Linked DNA regions of Homo sapiens: all the other regions are linked to region 2. The links are contacts of gene promoters, found by promoter capture Hi-C in human tissues and cell types (Jung and others, 2019). All regions are on one chromosome and are shown on one strand. The core of a region is centred on a gene start or on the middle of the fragment in contact, and the rest is flanking DNA. Distances in the headings are between cores, read along the strand shown. Region 1 overlaps EEA1 (early endosome antigen 1). Region 2 holds the start of MRPL42 (mitochondrial ribosomal protein L42). Region 3 overlaps EEA1 (early endosome antigen 1).

Region 1 (3,656 bases), core at 1,096-3,595, 600 kb after region 2:
TATTGGCTAGATAGATGGATTTGGGAGTCATCAGCATGTCAGTGATAGCTAAAACCATTGCATTGTTATATACCTGGGAGAATGCTGAGTCAGAAGAGGAGGAGGTCAATGAGAGAGCCCTGGGGAACAGTGATCTTTAAAGGGAATTGTATTTTTTTTTTTTTATAGAATCAAGAGAGGATGACCATTCTTATATGTAAAAGCTGTACATTCTAATAAAACTTACTTTCCATAGAACCTTCAAAGTTATAATATATTTACTTGTTGCTTACAGTGCCGAAGCACCACTGCCACACACATTCCATTTTATTTTTGTATCTCTAATAGAGGGGAATTTTAGAATTGTGGTGTACTTGATGGAAGCAAAACAAGTTTATTTCTTGCTACCTTTAATTAGCAGAATTGTATGTGTAATAACTTTATCATGATTTTGCTAATTACTATTTTAAAAAAATCTTTGATTTAATGAATGACTACAAATATTCTTTTTTTTTTTTTTTTTTTTTTTTGAGAAGGAGTCTTGCTCTGTCACCCAGGCTGGAGTACAGTGACATGATCTTGGCTCACTGCAACCTCCACCTCCCAGGTTCAAGCAATTCTCCTACTTCAGCCTCCTGAGTAGCTGGGACTACACGTGTGTGCCACCACACCCGGCTGGGCATGGTGGCTCATGCCTGTAATCCCAATGCTTTGGGAGGCCGAGGCGGGTGGATCACCTGAGGTCAGGAGTTCGAGACCACCGGGCCAACATGGCGAAACCCCATCTCTACTAAAAACACACAAATATTAGCTGGGCGTGGTGGCGGGTGCCTGTAATCCCAGCTCCTCGGGAGGCTGAGGCAGGGAAAATCGCTTGAACCCAGGAGGTGGAGGTTTGCAGTGAGCCAAGATTGCACCATTGCACTTCAGCCTGGGTGACGGAGCGAGACTCATTCTCAAAATAAAATAAAATAAAATAAAATAAAATAAAATAAAATAAAATAAAAAAATAAAAGTTGCAACCCAGTAAGTTGATTTCATAATTCATTAATGAATTGCAACCTAAAATTTGTAAAACATGGATCTTTATCAGCATCTTTAACATAGTACTCTAGTTGGTAGTTTTAACCATATAATAATTTTGAGATTAGTTATGTAGTTATGTTTGTTTTTTATATTTTATGGGGCTACACATTAATTTTAGGCCTTTACTGTGTTAGCTGTAGGTTAGCAAGGACATTTACTGACTAGAAAACTTGTTATCATTGTAGATATCCAAACTCTGTGGTGATTATGAATTACTTTTTTTCCCCCTCAGTGGTTCATCTTCTTTTTTTTTTTTTCATAGCATTCCTATGAAGTAGATTGGAACAGATATTATTTTACTAATGAGGATAGCTAGAGAAAGGAAGGATATGATGGCAAATCTTCTCAACTAATCTATATTAGAACTAACTTTTCAGATTAGACTTGGGTACTCCAGCTATTAATTTATCTGACCTAAAAATAAAAGATGGTTGCAAGGGCTTTCTTTGTATTTTGTAAACTTCAACTAGAATAGACAATGAAGTATCTTTGCATGATACTAGAATTTGGGATTAATACCATAAGATAAAATTTACCTAATGGCACCATTGGTATGATTCAGACATTTGGTGATATTTAATAATATGCAAATTGTTATTTCACAATATTAAATACTATTTTGAAACTTTTTTCTGCCCCTTTCTATAGGGTTTCATATGTCCCCAGTGTATGAAATCTCTTGGATCTGCTGATGAACTTTTCAAACATTATGAAGCTGTTCATGATGCTGGTAATGACTCAGGTCATGGAGGAGAGTCTAATCTTGCTTTGAAGCGGTACGGTATGATAATTTTGAAGTATAATGTTATGGAATATGCATGTGGTATCGTCGTTTAATCATGATTAATTAGCTTATGAAAATAGTAACCTTTTTGTATTATTTAATTTAAATCTGTCATCATTTAGCATATCCTTCCTCCACTATTGTTAAAAACTATTCAATCCTTGACCAGTAACTATCTATGCCAGCAAGTACAATACGGTACATAGGTTATGTTTTTAATGAAGATTGTGAGTTAGCAAAAGAAGATTAAATTATATTTAGCATATTGTGTGTAATATAAGATGATACGATTTGCTTAGATGACTTTATAGTAAGTTGTTAAAATAATAAATTTAGCCAACAATTAAAATTTAATTTTTAATTTAAAATTTAAAAATTTCCATTTATAATCACCAGTATAGCAATAAGCATACGTACACATTGTGTTTCCTGGTAATTTTTCTTGGCCATTTTAAGAAGTAAAAGTAAACTAAAATATAACTACTTAGAATAGCATTCAATGGTATAACTTTGCATTTCTTCTGCTATTGGAGAGAACTCTTGTCTTTTATCCCCACTGAGGGCATAAAAGTTTCACTTCATTGTACTTGTAAAAAAGTATTTTTATGCTTTCCTAAAAAAAAACTTACTGGTTGATTAATCTGCTGTAACACAAAGAATACTACATAAAGGAAAATATGATAACCATATAAACTTTGTGGTTGATAGATAATGTAGATCTATAAAACATGGCCATTTTACTGTATTAAAATATGTGGGAAAACCAGTGCTTTTGGGAAGAATGGATCTTCCTTTTTAATATGACTGCTAATGCTCTCGGGTATTTTTATGTGTGAATTAATAATTTTGGCTACTATTCTTTTGTCATTTGTTAGGAAATACATTAAAAACATGTAGTTAAATTATATTATAAATGTTCTTATATTTAATATCAATTTAATAGAGTTGTGTTTCAACTATGAATTAGACTGTGTCCAGTATATGAACTTTTAACATAAAAGCATCCACGGTCTACCCTTGTTCTTCTTAACTTTTCATTTAGTGTTTTAGTTAATTGAAGCCTGACTTCTGCCCTACCATTCTCTGGCTATGGCTCTGAAGACCAACAGTAACCTGGATTATTTTCAGTTCTTATTTTGCTTGACCTCTGTTTTGATTATCTATTACTGTCTGACAATCTACCCAAAGAACATAGTGGTTTAAAACTATAACAGTTTATGAATTCTCATGATTCTTTGAATTGACTGCATGATTCTTTTGCTTTAAGTGAGGGAGACTGGGGTTGTAGGAAGACCAGAAGGTTCAAAATGGCCTCACATTCATGGCTGGAAGTCTGTGTTGGATGCCAGCTGGGAGCTCATCTGGGGCTTTATGCCAAAGGCTTCAATTCTCTTTCATGTGGGCCTCTTTATGTGGCTGCTTGGACTTCCTCAAAAGCTGGTAGTTCGTTCTAAGGTAGTATGTTCCAAGAGGAAAGAAGCAGAAGCTGCCAATCTTCTTTAGGCTTGATTCAAAAGTGTCAGAGCATCACTTCTGCCATTCTATTGGATAAAGTAGTCATAGTGCCAAGTCAGATTCATGAGGCCTGAAGATAAACTTTGTCTTTTAGTGGATTAGTATAGGAAAGGAAGAACTTGATTGTAGTCATCTCTGTAGAGTATCTGCAACAACCACTGCAAAATTTGGCTGTGCCAGTTCTCCTTCCTTCTACTCTTCTGAGATGACATACCATTGTGATAATTTTTTCTTGATCTGTTTTGTATGCTGCTCTTTCTCTGTATGATCTACCTAGGGTAATATCTACATC
Region 2 (3,744 bases), core at 334-2,833:
CAACTGAAGCAATGCTTTTAAACAACTTGGCAATTCCACATGATTGAACAACAGGACGAAGAGCGACATGGACAGAATATAAGATCAGAACCACTGGAACTATGTCCATTACTATTTATCTTAGATACAAACTTCTCTGCAGGACCCAGTGCAGCTCCTTCCACTTAATGAATACTCAGTAAATGTGTAATTACTCTTGAAACAGTCACTCACAAATGGTACACAGAGTATTCATTCTTTTAATGCTAGTGTGGCTGTGTACACCCTCCAAGGTTCCATACACAAGATACTACATCATTTACAGTACTATCCTGTTTCTGATTAAATGAAATAGTTGTCTGCCCTGAGCCATTAATAATAATAATAATAATAAAGAAATATCAAACAAGGCCTATCCTTAGCCTATTACTCAATTGGAGGAACTCATAAATGCCCTCAAGTCCCAGATAAAATTTCACCATCTTATATGTGTACAAAGTCTTTAACTTTCCAACGTACTTTCACCACCATTTCATTTTGCTCTCGTATTAATCATGTGAGGTATCTTTATTCTGATTCATGAAGAAACTAAAGTACAAAATTTAAACGTCTTGCTTCCAAGGACTTTAGAGTCAGTCACTGCCAAATTGGGAAACTTTAAACAAGTCATTAACTAAACGATCCTCAGTTTCTCCAATGACAAAATGGGGAAAACCACAATCTTCATGGCCTGTTGTGAATAAATGACAAATAACCATTGTTAAATCTTGTTTTTAATAGTCTTCAATGAGTATCCGTGCCCTTCCCCCCAATAGTGATAAAAGAGAATTAGGACACAGGCCCTCTTATTTGCTAGTCTAAACCACTCACACTGATACCTTGCACTGCCAGTACATTAACACCGTTAACCCTGAGCTCATAGGTGTGCTTTTTAGTTTACAACCCACTTTCATATACAATATGTGCTCTGACTTTCACAAGTGTGTGAAGCAGCATCTCCATTTCAGATTAAGAACAAAGGCTCAGAGAGGTCAATCGATTACTTGCTCAGTATATCGCTGCTTAATACATGCGTGGGACGTAAACCCATGACTTCTGACCACGAATAAAACATCTTGGGGGAAATTAGGTCCCCTCTGTCCGAAGCCCAGAGAAAAGCACGCCCTGCTGGGAGTCAGATTATTCACCCCAGGAAGATCATTTCAGAGATCAAGTCCCTCAGCCCGGAATTCAACCCCAAAACAAAAGCTACAGAGCCTCTGAGGGTCAGAGGTTTGAGGAACAGGCTACCAAGAGCACCAGAACTCTTCGACCTAAAGGAGTCCCTAGAGCCACAAGCTGCATCACCTCCCCACGGGCGTCCGCCAGGGAACAAAGGGGGCGCTATAAGAAACGCGCAGCCACATGCCGGCTCTTCTGCAGGAAGGACAAAGGCTGGGGATGCAGGCAACCTCGCCCTGCCGGGAACGACAGGCGGGAGACCTCTACAACTGCCGACCAACACTGTGGGACTGCCCAGTTTCGAGGAAGTCCTCGACAGGAGGAGTAGAGGGAAGCGGTTACCTTGACGGCTTCTCACCACGAACCCGCCATCTTGTTTCAATCCTGGTCCCACGAAACAGCGCTGCGCGCGCCGTCCCAGCCCGCGGGGCATTCTGGGAAATGTAGTCTCCGCGGGAAAGCGGCCCGGGTGCAGAGAGAAAGGGAGGATTGTTGCTATGGACTTTTACCTTTAGTTGGGGAAGCGTGGCCGCAGTGTTACTAAGGTGCCCAGAAAAACAAAATCACTGCCCCAAACACATACCCTTAGAAAGTAACAAGCTTTTTTTTTTTTTTTTTTTTGTGAGGCAGTCTCATTCTGTCACCCAGACTGGAGTGCAATGGCTCCCTCACGGCTCACTGCAGCCTCTACCTCCTGGGCCCAAGAGAGCCTCCCACCTCAGCCTCCTGAGTAGCTGGTACTACAGGCGCACACCACCACACCCAGCTAATTTTTTAATATTTTTGTAGAGACGAGGTCTCGGTATGTTGCCCAGGCTTGTCTCAAGCAATCCTCCTGCCTCGGCGTCCCAAAGTGCTGGAATTACAGGCATGAGCCACCATGCAAACCTATAAGTACTTTTTAAAAAAATTATGTTAATATTCAGAGAAATCGTAGATTGCTCTTTAGTAGATGAGTTAAAGTTTCCCAGGGGAAGAGACATTCCAGAGAAGCCCTGAAATGTGGAGGCTAGGATTTGGACGTTTGAAATCAGAACCTGAAGAGAACCTCCACTCTGAAAACCTGGCACTGTGCCCTCAGAACTGTGCTGGCTACCTATTATGGGAGGAAGTAAATATGCAGAATCTTGGACCTCGCTTTCCATCTTAGGAGGAAGGAAAGACCTCTGGGCCTTTGCACTCTCTGTTCCCATTGCCAGCAATGTGCTTCTCTGACCTCTTCTCATGACCTTACAGGTCTTTCTCAAATATCATCTTAGAAAGGACCACACCATTAAAATAGCCTCACCCACCCTTATTCCATGCCCCGCTTTATTTTCCTTCAGAATATTTACCATTACCTGACTTTATATTGATTATTTGTTTGCTCGTTGAATGTCTCTTTCTTTTTTTTTTTTTTTTTGAGACGGAGTCTTGCTCTATCGCCCAGGCCGGAGTGCAGTGGCATGATCTCAGCTCACTGCAACCTCCGCCTCTCAGCTTCAAGCGATTCTCCTGCCTCAGCTTCCTAATTAGCTGGGATTACAGGTGGCCACCACCACGCCCAGCTAATTTCTGTATTTTTAGTAGAGATGGGGTTTCGCCATGTTTGCCCGGCTGATCTCGAACTCCTTACCTCAGGTGATATGCCCACCTCGGCCTCTCAAAGGGCTGGATTACAGGCGTGAGCCACCACACCCAACCTCGTTTAATGTCTCTTATGCTGGATAATGTAAGCTCCTTGAAGACAGAGACATATGTCTATCTTGTTCTTCACTGTATGCAAACCCAGCATCTCAGACTGTGCTTGGTCTCATTATAGGTCTCCAGGAAGTGTTTGCTGAATGAATGAAAAGACTAGATAACGCTGCAAGTATCCAAGACAGTAGATGATTGGCTGGTAAAGCAGAAGCGGTCGCCTGGAAATTCCCTTCTCCCATGATTTGCAAAATTTTGCTTTTGTATATTTTTCTAAGAAATAATCTATAGCTTTTATTATGTATTCCAGGGAATTGATAAACCCCTCAACAAGTTAAGAACCATATTCCTGAAGTGACTAGTATTGAAAGTAAGTGAACACACATCACATAGTAAAGAAAACTAAATACGGGCTGTGTAGTGTGTCTCCTCATTTCCCACGGAATATCAGGAGGCTAATCTTTGCTCTTATAGAAGCCCACAGAGGGCCCATCTGTGTCCTTTCCAGTCGTGTCCATCCTCCAAAGCCACCCATGATGTCTTTCTGGACTGTGCAATAGGAAGGGACAGAGAGGAGAAACAGATTTGAATGAGCAGTCAACTGGACTGGTTGAACATTCCCTGCGTAAAGTGTAAGAAGAATGGATCAAAGATAATTCCAGAGGTCAAGTCTTGATGGCTGTGAGCAGAGTGGGACCAGTCCCCAACAGGGAGACTCACTTAGTGGGACCAAGGAAGGTCTCACAAAGCTGAGACCAGAAAAGAAACCAACATTTTTGGGGGAAGAGAGGGGAGAGACAGGTTTAGGCTGAGTGAGGGAACAACTTACACAAAGGTTTAATGTGGTGGAAATAGCTTACCATATAC
Region 3 (3,592 bases), core at 134-2,633, 620 kb after region 2:
GAGGCTGAATCAAAGAAGTCTCATGAGGAAAAGTGCTATTCAGATGTTAATGTCAAAATACCTAAACCAGGGTGAACCCAGTCATTTATTTCTTTGTATCAGTAAGAACTATTTTTGTTTAGATATGTCTGCCTATTGGTATTTCTCAAATTAAAAAAAAATACACTCCCTTTTGATTAAAAAATATCTTAAATGCTATTTGAAATTTTAAAATAAATGTATTATGGTGACTAAAACAGAACCAAATTAATGTCAGTTTTAGGAATATGTATTTTAAAGTTGAGTCCTCTCTGACTTATTCCAGCTGCAAGTTTTGGAGTTATGCATATACTTTTTAAACAAATAGAACATTAACAAGGAAAATAAATTTACATGTTTACTTGCATTTAAAAAAAATACAGGCTGAGTATGGTGGCTCACCTCTATAATCCCAGGACTTTGGCAGCTGAGGCAGGCAGATTGCTTCAGTCCAGGAGTTTAACCAGCCTGGGCAACATGGTGAAATCCTGTCTCTATAGAAAGTTAGCCAGACGTGCTGGCACGTACCTGTACTCCCAGCTAGGTGGGAAGCTGAGGTGAGAGGATTGCTTGAGCCCAAAAGGTTGAGGCTGCAGTGAGCCATGATCACACCACTGCACTCTAGCCTGGGCGATAGAGGCAGACCCTGTTTCAAAAAAAAAAAAAAAAAAAAAAAAAAAAGGTGAGAATATAATATAACTTGCTAATGGGAAGACATTTCTAAGTAACATTTAGGAGTTACTCTAATTTAAGAATTACTCATTTCTAAGTAATATTTAAGAGTTACTCTAATAAATTCTTATTTAAGAATTTTTAGTGTTTTATGAATTTATATTTCTATTGTAGATTAAAATACCTTTATATCTAAGGAGAATAAGTCATTTAAGATGAAAAAGCTATGATTAGAGTTTTTTTGTTTTTCTTTATTTAACAAATTATTTTTGGTAGAGATGGGGTCTTGCTATGTTGCTTAGGCTGGTCTTGACCTCCTGGCCTCAAGCAGATCCTTCTGCCTTAGTTTCCCAAAGTGTTGGTATTAAAGATGTGAGTCACCACACCCATTCTATGACTAGAGTTATGAAAGATAGGGAGGTGAAAGAATTTAGTGTCTCCCTCCATCGTCTCCTCCTGCAAACAGGGCTTTGTAAGAAATGGTGATTTTTTTTTTTTTTCTAGAAAAGGTATTTCTAGGAAAGAAGGAAAATGGCTTAGAAATCAGTTCTTCGTGTTTTCATTTAAATTTTCATAAAAATTTATCTTTTCAAGTATTTGGAAATAAATTTAGAAAGGAACTTATTTGTGCTGAGTAACTGAATAGGTGATTTAATATTTCATTATATTTTTAATAAAATAATAATACTTATTACCTATTTAATTAATAGATATGTAGTGATGAATGAGACCTTGGCTATGTTAAAATATTTTGAATAACTTTAGGAAATGGTAACTTAAGAGTCAGAATAATATTATTATTAGAAACAAACTCTTACTCTTTTGAGCACCAGTAGGTTTTGGATACTATGTTAGGCACTTAAAACGTGGTCGCATTTGTTTCTTATAACCCTGTAAGTTAACTATTAAGTATGTTTTACATGTGAGGAATCTGAGAGGCAATGAGATTAAGTAAATTGTTCAAGGTCACACCTAATATAAAAGCTAGGGTTGGAACTCAGGTTTTGTCCAAAGCCTGTGTCATTCCCTTTTTATTATGTTGTCTCCTAATTTAGGTGGTCTGATGATTGCCTTTTAAGTAAATTTGTGCTATTAATCTTGTCCTAAAACTTATTGTTAATTACTTTTCTAATTTTGCCATATTGTGTGTTGTAATATTTGTATTGGGTAATAGCTTAAAATACTTTTGAGTTGTGTCATACCATTTCCATATGAAAAAAATTACTAATTACTTCATCTCATTTATTTGTTTATAACTGCATTTGTTTTTTAGCTTTTCCTTAATCTGAATATATGACGTTTTATTAATTTATTAAAATTCAATTCTAGTTATTTTCAATTAAGTATGTTAGTGAATTATAGGACTTAATACAACAATTTTTATTATGGATGTTGCTGTTTTTACCAAACCTAAATATTGGCATCAGAAACAAAACACATACAAAGGAATTAAAGAAGCTAAAAATTTATTTTTAAGGGCCAGGTGCAGTGGCTCACACCTGTAATCCCAGCACGTTGGGAGGCCCAGGCGGTGGATCACCTGAGGTCAGGAGTACAAGACTAGCATGACCAACACAGTGAAACCCTGTCTCTACTAAAAATACAAAAAATTAGCCGGGTGTGTGGTGGCGCATGCCTGTAATCCCAGCTACTTGGGAGGCTGAGGCAGGAGAATCCCTTGAACCCGGGAGGTGGAGGTTGCAGTGAGCCAAGATCATGTCACTGTACTTCGAACCTGGGCAGCAGAGTGAGACTCTGTCTCAAAAAAAGAAAAAAAATTAAAATCTCAAGTAAACATTTATTTCAAACAAAATTAATGGCAATTTTAGGAATATGTGTTTTAACATTTAGCTCAAATAAATGTTTATTTGACTAGTATACCTAGTTGGGGCTGAAGATACATAATCTGGTGTACATTATTAACTATGTATGTCCTTGTGTTTATTATTTTCATTGAATGCATACCTTATGAATTCATTGACTTCTTTTTGCCTGGGTATTTTTGAAGGCATATAGAAAATATCTCATTCTAAAGCATTTGAAAATTCTTTATAGATAATTGGCTGTTTTATGGATTGGAAATTGAGGATTTAAAGGTTAAAAAGTATATTTATACAAATCTACATTATTGAAAATATCTAAGCTGTAATCAACTTATATTTGGTGTAGTATTTAATGGAAATGATTTTTAAAGAATTTTACTTTTTTCCAAATAAACTCATTGAATCCCAGTTTTAAGTGCTAAAATGTTCATGTAGATATGGAATAAGTATGATTATACCCATGCATAGCTATGAAAGTATTTAAATATCTTTTAAAGTATGCTTCTTTAAGAGACTAGATGTGTAGGCATGTTTGGTCATTTTAATTATGTGCTCAGTGTGTACTTTTGTCAGTCTTGTCTGCCACCTTTCATCCACCATTTTGTTATTACTTTTTCTGCTTTCTAATGGAGATGCTTAAACTTGAGGTAATGTGATTTTGGGAGGCTTTTTAATATTAATAATACCCTTAATGTGTCACCTTCAATTGTTATATGGCAATTTTATGTTTTAAGGCAATCTTAGAGCTTTGAAGACATGCTCATTTTTGTTTTGCTAATCATGCATAGCTTCAACCATTTTAAAATGATTATTTACTTATAGTTGTAGCATATTAAAACAATAATTTTAATTCTAATGCACCAGCAGGATGTTTGCTTGAAATATCTTTCCTTATTTTGTAAAGTTTTTTAGTAAAAATTCAGTATTGAATTCAATAACATTTCAGAAAACCAAGGAAGTGCAAACTTTTTATAGGATCTAATATATTGTTTCCTTGGAAATAAATATCTATTATCTCTTTGGAGGTATAATTACTCATTCCTTTAGTGAGTCTTTTTGGGTCTTCCAAGTGTCAGGGA

What was found. Contacts are between HindIII fragments. The study calls those that stand out against the background at their distance.
Region 1: a contact is called between a fragment that was not itself captured here and the fragment with the promoter of MRPL42 in region 2, in 1 of the 25 tissues and cell types used here (dorsolateral prefrontal cortex).
Region 3: a contact is called between a fragment that was not itself captured here and the fragment with the promoter of MRPL42 in region 2, in 1 of the 25 tissues and cell types used here (heart left ventricle).

Annotation. Positions count from the first base shown.
Region 1 is chr12:92,863,045-92,866,700 of GRCh38, reverse strand. EEA1 (early endosome antigen 1) reads left to right here. Exons shown (of 29, transcript NM_003566.4): 3 at 1,714-1,841. Among named protein-coding and RNA genes, the nearest start is that of EEA1, 64 kb to the left of the region's middle. The HindIII fragment of the contact is 8,401 bases long and covers 1-3,656 here.
Region 2 is chr12:93,465,353-93,469,096 of GRCh38, reverse strand. It overlaps MRPL42 (mitochondrial ribosomal protein L42), which reads right to left and starts at 1,583. Exons shown (of 6, transcript NM_014050.4): 1 at 1,543-1,583. RefSeq lists enhancers at 1,362-1,631, 1,692-1,751. The HindIII fragment of the contact is 7,004 bases long and covers 1-3,744 here.
Region 3 is chr12:92,845,830-92,849,421 of GRCh38, reverse strand. The region is part of intron 9 of EEA1 (early endosome antigen 1); the gene reads left to right. Among named protein-coding and RNA genes, the nearest start is that of EEA1, 82 kb to the left of the region's middle. The HindIII fragment of the contact is 4,086 bases long and covers 1-3,426 here.